2 separate regions of the Homo sapiens genome follow, and region 2 is linked to region 1. The links are contacts of gene promoters, found by promoter capture Hi-C in blood cells and fetal thymus (Javierre and others, 2016). All regions are on one chromosome and are shown on one strand. Each heading gives the region's core, a stretch centred on a gene start or on the middle of the fragment in contact. The rest is flanking DNA. Distances are from core to core; before and after follow the strand shown.

Region 1 (3,894 bases), core at 656-3,155:
TGGGCCTCCCACTGGGGTCGCTGCAGCCTGGGTGGGCTGGGCTGCCGTCTGCACTCCCTCTGCTGAGTCAGCCCCATTTCAAGGGAGGTGGCCCAGCCCCCTGAGCAAAAGAGGACAAACAAGTGCCCTCTCCCCACAGGAGGGGGGTCCTATGGATGGGGAAGGATGTGAGACCAGTCACACCTAGTGGAAAAGCAGAACCAGGGGCCAGGGCTCCCACACAGGACATCATGCCTTGGAGAAAAGCCACCACTCGCTGGAGTTGGATGGGTCTCAGATGGGGAAACCGAGGCCCCGAGAGGGAGTGACTGCTCAGGCCCGGTCTCCTCCCTTCCCCACCCTTGCTTTGCCCCACATGCACCTGAAGCTCACCTGGCAAACTGGCCATCAGACACTCAGAAAGGGTATGCTCACAGGGGTGACCCACATGGCCAGGCTTTCCCAGGGAAGCAGGGCCGGGAGCCCTAGGGGTGGCGAGGTTGGCTCAGATCCTCGTGGGGGCCATTTTCTGCTGCTCCTATCTTCTTTGTTTTTCCTCTGAGGACCCTCATATTCGCCTCTGTCACTGCCACTGGCGGGATTTCACAGCCTTCCGGGGGCATGTGCTCCGCCCCCCAGGTTCTGCGGTCACTGTGCCAGAATCAGTCCCTGCAGGCACAGAGGGCACTGCCTAGAGACCTGGCACCGCAGCCCAGGTCTCTGAGGCCCCTGCAGCACGTGGCTGGGCAGGCTCGCTGGCCCTGTGTCCTCAGCCTTGGCAGCCTAGCCCGTGTTGGAGGCACCATCCTGCACTGACCAGGGTCTGCAGGTGGCAGGCATGCCACCGCCAGCCTGGACCCCAAGCCCTGTTCTTGTGTCCCTTGTTGCATGGCACAGAGGCCCCATCCAGGGAACTTATAAGCCTTCTCCTGGATGCCACCCCCAGGTCTGTCTGGAATGTGTGCACCTGTATCCTAATGCCAGCTCTGGGTCCTCTGACACCATTCTGCTTCAGAAGCAGCTCCGAATCCGTATCGCAGAGGGGACGAGTCCCCGGGCTGTGACTGAGCGCTTCCAGCTGCCTGGGTGTGCACCTTCCATCCCAGGAGTCCTCTTTCTCCCCGTCCCGGCCAGGACACAGGCTCTGAGAAGGGCGTTGCCCGATGGCTGGTGTTTCATTGACTTAGCCGCTAGCTCCACTCCCACAATTTAAGAATGGGGAGACCATCAGGACCCCAAAAGGTAGAGCTACTCACCTCACAGCCCCAGCAGGCTACGTCGCTTCATTCCCAGGCCGAAAGCGGCCACAGTCCCTGCCAGAAAGGAGCGATTCTCTGGCCCCGCTCCTTGAGGGGGTCAGCATGCGCAAGAGGCGCAGGCATCACCGGCTGGCCCGACTCCTCCTCACCAAGCTTCCCCCGGAGCAGCCGCGCAGCGCCCAGCTCGGGGCAGACGGCTGGGTCCTCTGTGGAACCATCCCCGACCGTCCCGGCCTGGAGCCCCGCCGGCGGCTAGCCCGGCGGCCAACGCCTCCCCTCCCCTCCCCCTCAATCCCGCCCCGGGGGCCGCCCCAAGCTCCCACTGCAGCGCCCCCAACGCTCTACCCGCTTCCCGATGCCCGCCTCCGGCCCCCCAATGCCGTCCCGCCGTGGTCGCCCCGGGTTCTCGCACGCCCCGCCCTCGGTTCCCACCGCTCTCCGCCTCCCCTTCCTCCATCCCCGCCGGGCAGGGCGCGCCCGAGACCCGCGCCGGGAGCGGCGGCCGGGGCCCCGAGTGGCCGGGAGGGGCTGGCGGGCTGGCGCGCGCGGCTCGGGTTTCGGCCCGCCCCCGGCGCCGGCGTGATCCCCTCCCGGGCGCGGGGCGGGGCCGGGCCCAGCTGGCCGCGCTCCGGGCGCTATAAGAGGGCGGCGGCCGCGGCGCGCCCTGCGCGGAGCTGGGAGCGCGATGGTCGGCCGCCGAGGCGCGGCAAGATGCTGGATGGGTCCCCGCTGGCGCGCTGGCTGGCCGCGGCCTTCGGGCTGACGCTGCTGCTCGCCGCGCTGCGCCCTTCGGCCGCCTACTTCGGGTAGGTGCCTTCGGCGGCCGGCGCGCACTGGTGGGCGGGGGCGGCGGGGCCGGGGCGGGGTCGTCCGGAGTCCCCGAGGCACCCGGGGTGGCTGGGGCCGGGGCGCGGCGGGGCCGCCGGGTTGCCTGGCGCTGTTTGTTTGCGGCGCGCGCGTCGCTCCGTCCGCTGCGCGGCACGGCTAGAGAGGCGGGTGGACCCGTCCGGCTTGCGCCGGGCCGCGGTCCTCCGTGACCGCAGAGTCGTCGTCGTCGTAGTCGCCGCCGTGAGCAGGACTGCCTCGCGCTTAGGGACTGGGATCAGGTCCCGACTTCCTTGGGCCGCCGTGTCCTTGCCAAAAGGCTGGAGCCTGAGTCCTCAGCCCCTGGCCATCGCCCACCTAGCAGCTTCCCCCCCTTTCTCTTCTCGAGAAGTTAATTTAACAATAACAAAAATACGTACAAAATCCAGATGTTCCTCGCGCTGAGCCCCAAACGGAGAGAGAGAGAGAAAGAGAGAAATCCTCCAAGCTGGAGGAATTTATTTTTCTTGCGCTTTGCTTCTGACTCTGTGGCCCGGGCCCCGGCCCGCGGGAGCGCGTCCATGGAACCTGGCCGGGAGCGCAGGGCCCGGCCGGGGCGTCCCGCGGTGTCATTGCCCGTGCTCACGTGTCTCTGCAGCAGCGCTTTGCCGGGCTGTCGGCGCGTCTCTCTCTTCCTTTCTTTCCCTTCCTTCTTCCCTCCCCCTCTCTGAGGTCTGGGATGCCCAGTCCTGCGACCTTTACAGGGACCCTCGCTGCGCTTTGGGCGCGCTGAGGTGCAGGGTGGCGCCGTGCGAGGCAGCGCCCCGGGCCTCCCCGCCACCCTCCAGCCTCCTACCCCGAGCGCCGCCGCTGGGAGCCCTGGCTGGCCTTCGGATCCCAGCCCCCGACCTGGACGCCCTGGGCCGCTCCCTCAGCCGGGCCGCCGCCCTCCGCCGGTCACCTGTTCCCGGCCCTCTGGCCTGAGCGCCAGCGCGCGGCGGGCTGGCCGGCAGAGGGCCCCGTTGGTCCAGGAATCTGGCACCCGCCCGGGCAGGGAGAGGCCGCCTGGGCCGAGGAGCCCTGCAGGTGTATCCTGTTCTCAAAGAAAATAAAATATTTTCATGGGAAACTTTCCCTTTGTGTTTTTCTTTCTCTCCCTTTCTTCTCTCTGTTCCTTTCTTCTGGGTCGTCTTCCAGGGTCAGCCCGGTGTCTCAGTTCCCTGGGGCCCCCACCCGCAGCCCTCTCCTGGCTCCAACTGTGGGTACGGCCCTGGGCCTGGGCTGGCACGCCACTGCACGCCATCTGTGCAACCCGTAGCCTCACCCGGGAGGGCAGGAGGGAGGGCCACAGGTCCGCGGTGACTCACCGTGGCCTTGTCAGCCAGCTGTGCTTCCCTGCTCTCCGGCCCAGCGGAGGCTCTGCTTCTTGGGCTGGGGACACACCCTGGGCTTGTCCAGGCTGCAGCGGCTTTGTCCCTGCTGTGATCCGATTCCTGGAGACGGGGTGGCGCTGGGTCTTGGCCTCTCCTTCTCTGACCTATCTCTGGGCTTTGTGCCCTAGAGAAGGTCAAGGGGCTCTGCTGCTTTGTGTGCGTGTGTTTCAGCTCTCTTGCAGACAGTAAGTCCAGGCTGGTGCCAGGCGCATAGCAAGGACTTAAGTGCTGTTGTGGCTTCTCTGGCCAGGCCCCCTTGGCCCTGCTTCTTGGCTCCAAAGGACCCATCAAGGGAGAATTCCTGAGTCCTGTCTGAGGGCAGCTCTCCATGTAGCTGCCCTGTGGGAAGTCCAGAGGGCAAGTGTGCTGCCTTTGGGGACAGCTGGCATTGCAGAGGGCAGCTAGGACTCTGTTTGACT
Region 2 (4,016 bases), core at 256-2,755, 190 kb after region 1:
TTAGCTGGGCATGGTGATATGTGCCTATAGTCCCAGCTACTTGAGAGGCCAAGGCAGGAGGATGTCTTGGGCCCAGGAGATTGAAGTTACAGTGAGCTATGATTGCACCTCTGCACTCCAGCCTGGATGACAGGGCAAGGCCCTGTCTCTAAAAGAAAAAAATAAATAAAAAGAAAAAGAAAATACTGTGCATGTCCCTTGGTAGGATGTGTGGGAAGGAAACCTCACCCTGTGGCCTTCCTCCCAAACCACAGCCCAGGCCGACTGCAAGAAAATCTGAGACAGAGGCTGCTGTGCAAGCCCTGGCCCAGCCTCCAGAAGGCTGTCAGAAGCCACAGGGCCCAGAGACATGTGAGGAGGGTGATTGTGCGGTCCTGGGTGCTCCTCAACGCAAGGACGAGTGTCTAGAATAAAATAAAACGTGCACTTGGCACGCAGCCCTGCAGAGGTCTCTGGAAAGGCTCCCCGCCCCGGGTGTCCCTCCCTGACAAGCGCCCATCCGGTGTCGCGAGGCTGCCACCCTGTGGCCACACGTGCACCAGCGCTCGTCCCAGAGGCAGGGATTTCTGAGACATCCGTCATGGTTTCCACCTCCAGGGAGCCCACAGTTTCCAGCTGAGAGCAGTAAACACAGGGAAGCTGGCACAGAGTCCCTGTGCCTACGCATGGACAACAGCAGCAGGCGGCAGGCAGAGGCAAGGCCTCAGAGCCACAAGTGCCCCACAGACTACTGAGCTCCCATCAAACGGGGCGCCGCCTTCTTGCTAACATAGCACCAGGCAGGGCACCACACGCTCCAACCCCTGCATGGAGCCTCTTCAAGAACACCCTCTGGAGGCACAGCTGCCCCCATGAGACCAGCACTTACCTGGACAGGCCAGGTTGCCCATGGGGGTGAAAGTGAGCACGGAAAGGTGGCACAACAGTCCCCCACAGGAGCAACAGTCCATCTCACACATGCAGCAGGTCCCTGTGGGACTGTGTGCTGTGTGTGCCACATGGCAAGATGGCTGCCCCAGGTACTCAAAACACCACGGGCCGGGTGCAGCTGTGCAAGTGAAAAGACGGTGCTCGCTGTGGCTACAACCCACACTCAGGTGACCTGAACTAAGGGGGCCCTCCTAGCCGAGCAGGGAGGGTGACGCCATCAGTCCTGAATCCTGAATGCACGTTGAGGCCCCCAGAAAAGGTGATAGCCCTCTGACCTCAAACGGCACAGATTGCAGGAACCCACTTACAAACACCAGCCTGCGGAACACAGGAGTGCTCGCCACCACGGTGCAGCCAGGTCGGCAACATGGCAGGGCCACTAAACACACTGAGTGCTTCTCTACTGGGACCCTGGAGAGCAGTCCTGAACTCCACAGAATGTCACAAACTTCCTGCCTGACGCCACACATACCCAGGGACCCCTCTTCAGTCCCCACACCACCAGTCCACAGCACGTCACATACCTCCTCCCTGAAGCCACGTGCAGGAGTACGCCTGTACCATTTACCTTGAATGTGGGTGAAGACCTCTGCTTCCTATGCTTCTGTAGCCTGTCTCCCACTAGGACACTCGGGTTCAGGCCTGCACTTTAGTGACAGCAGCTCATGGTGACCTTTGATCTCATCTTGATCAATGGATTTCATTACATTTCACACCACATGCTCCATTCCATAGGGGTCAATGCCTCTCTTTGCAACCCCTGACTTTAAGACATATACAGAAAGGTGGTAGGTTTTCTGTGATTCAACTACGTGCTGCATATCTAAGGTGTGCACCTTTCATTTTTAGGGTGTGTATTCAGCCCTGGGGCTCATGGGACTCAATCTATTATTATGTGTATTTCTTTCCGAAACTTGAAGCCATCTGGAATAGCAAGCAAAACATTTTCATGTTAGAGAAACAGGTTATAGGAACTGAAATCTTTCTCTTAAGAGAAAAATTAGAGAAACCGAAAGGGTAGCAAATATCTCTTACTTTTAACAGACACCTGGCATTTAAAATCCTGAAGAATACAGCTTTACATGCTGTACGTATAGACACGCATTATAGTGTGGACGTACATGTCACATACATGCACAATACATAGGCATTGATACACATGTGTACATATGTATACATGCATGCGTATTAGCTATAATGCTAATATTAGAAAATGGAGTCTTTTATGACATTCAGATTTCTTAATCAGAGCTCGAAGACAAACTGCAGGGGAAAATCGGTGGATTTTACCATGGCAAGATAAAAGATTTCTGTAAGGGAGGAAGAGACTCTAGAGGAAGTGGCTATAGCCTCTAAAGCCAGCCAAGGCTGATGGACTAGGATAGTAGGAAAGTCGTGCACATCTGTGGGGGAAGAAAGCACATGAGGAAAGAAGAAAACAGAACAGGCCATCCATAGAGCAAAACCTGCAGGGCCAAAACAAATACAACGCATCAGAGGCCCCACCTCCTAACCAAGGAAAGGGTAAAGGCAAGAATAACACCAAGAGGCCACCAGCCTCCCATCAGACGGGCAGGACCATGGCGGCTCCTAGCACATAAGCCTCGGTCCTGTGCTAGGGAGGAGGTAGGCCAAACGTGGTGGACGTGCCAAGACCCAGGGTGTCTGCCCCTCAGCCCGGCCCCCAGGACAGGCCAGCTGAGCATTCACAATCTACAATGGAGTCTGCGGGAAGGTACCATGGCCACTCCACACACATCTGAGAATGCCACAAACACACAGAACCACGCTGCACAGTTCTCCAACACACAGATCCCTAATAGCATGTTTGGGCGCCAGGCTAGGAAAACCTAGATTAAATGCCCAGGGAAACAAGAGTGGGCAAAGTAGGGGTGATGGGAATGGCCCCACCAGGGGAAGTGGAGATGGTGCCAGTAACAATCCTGAGGTGCTGGTTCCCACATCAAAATGAGGGGAGATGACAGAGACAACAGCAGGAGCTTCCTTTTGCTCTGATGCACTCATTCTGAAAGCCCTTTCTGTGTCGTAGCAGGTTCTGCATCACCATAACTGAGCACCTGAGACTGGGTAATTTACGAAGAACAGACCTTTAGTCAACTGACAGTTCTGTGGGCTGGGAAGTCCAAGGGCATGCCCTGGCTTCCACCAAGGGCTCTCGTGTTGTGGCAGAGACACTCAAGGGGGAAGCGGACACAGGCAAAGAGACAGAATCAGAGGGGCATCCTGCCTCCTAACAACCCACTCTTGGGAACTAATGCATTCCCAGAATTCATCCAGGCTTCCCAGAGGGAGCACTCACTCACTACCATGAGAACATCACTGAGCCACCCAGAGGGCAGAGTCCTTGTGACCAAACACCTCCCAGCCCTGCCACACTGGCGACCAAATTTCCACATGAGCTTTGGTGAGGATAAACTGTATCCAAAGCATGGTACCAACCGCTTTGGAATTCACGCACCTATCAAGTGTACAGTTAACTCTCAGTGATTTCAGATTCACAGATGTCAAGTACAAGGAAAATGGTCTGGAATTGTTTTTATGTATAAACAAACGAGCTGTCTCTAGCAAGCTGGAGGCCAGCAGCTGCTCTAGGTGACGCATCTGTTAGGCATTTCCCACAGGCGTGCTGAGTCTGCCTGTAATTTTAGAAGTCTGTGCACGCGCTCACTGCCTTGTCGGTCACTAACCTGCATGCCAGACTGAGCAGCTCTTCTCTGCGGGGGAAGAGGTTCTTGCGCTTCTGAGCACCAATGCATCTTCTAACAGCTCCATCTTCTTGCTGAACTGCACTTCTAAAATGGGGATAACCTCTGGCATCTTGGCAGATATCAAACGATAGGCCATGTCTGGCTTTCCAATAAACCGCTGGCGGATGCTAATTTCGTAAGGTGAGTGGACCTTGATGTCGTCCACGTCTTCTCTTTCAAACCTGTGCATGAGCAAAGAACTGGAGTCATGTATTTCCAACCCAGACACAAGGACGGTGAGCCTCCCTGGTTTAACGTGAGACTCTGTTCTGTGGGAAATAACAGCAGGAATTTTTATCAGTATCCCTTCTTTCCCAA

The links. The method cuts DNA at HindIII sites, captures the fragments that hold promoters and counts their contacts. A CHiCAGO score of 5 or more calls a contact.
Region 2: a contact is called between a fragment that was not itself captured here and the fragment with the promoter of WNT9A in region 1, in 3 of 17 cell types (total CD8 T cells, naive CD4 T cells and M1 macrophages). The highest score is 6.6, in total CD8 T cells.

What each region holds. Positions count from the first base shown.
Region 1 is chr1:227,945,943-227,949,836 of GRCh38, reverse strand. It overlaps WNT9A (Wnt family member 9A), which reads left to right and starts at 1,905. Exons shown (of 4, transcript NM_003395.4): 1 at 1,905-2,044. The coding sequence starts at 1,950. LOC124904533 (a long non-coding RNA gene) reads right to left here. Exons shown (of 2, transcript XR_007066912.1): 1 at 3,410-3,894; 2 at 2,534-3,135. RefSeq lists silencers at 1,791-1,870, 2,974-3,083 and an enhancer at 1,951-2,000. The HindIII fragment of the contact is 8,120 bases long and covers 1,394-3,894 here.
Region 2 is chr1:227,759,108-227,763,123 of GRCh38, reverse strand. SNAP47 (synaptosome associated protein 47) reads right to left here. Exons shown (of 5, transcript NM_053052.4): 3 at 3,639-4,016. Among named protein-coding and RNA genes, the nearest start is that of SNAP47, 26 kb to the right of the region's middle. RefSeq lists enhancers at 163-252, 573-722, 906-1,656. The HindIII fragment of the contact is 5,154 bases long and covers 1-4,016 here.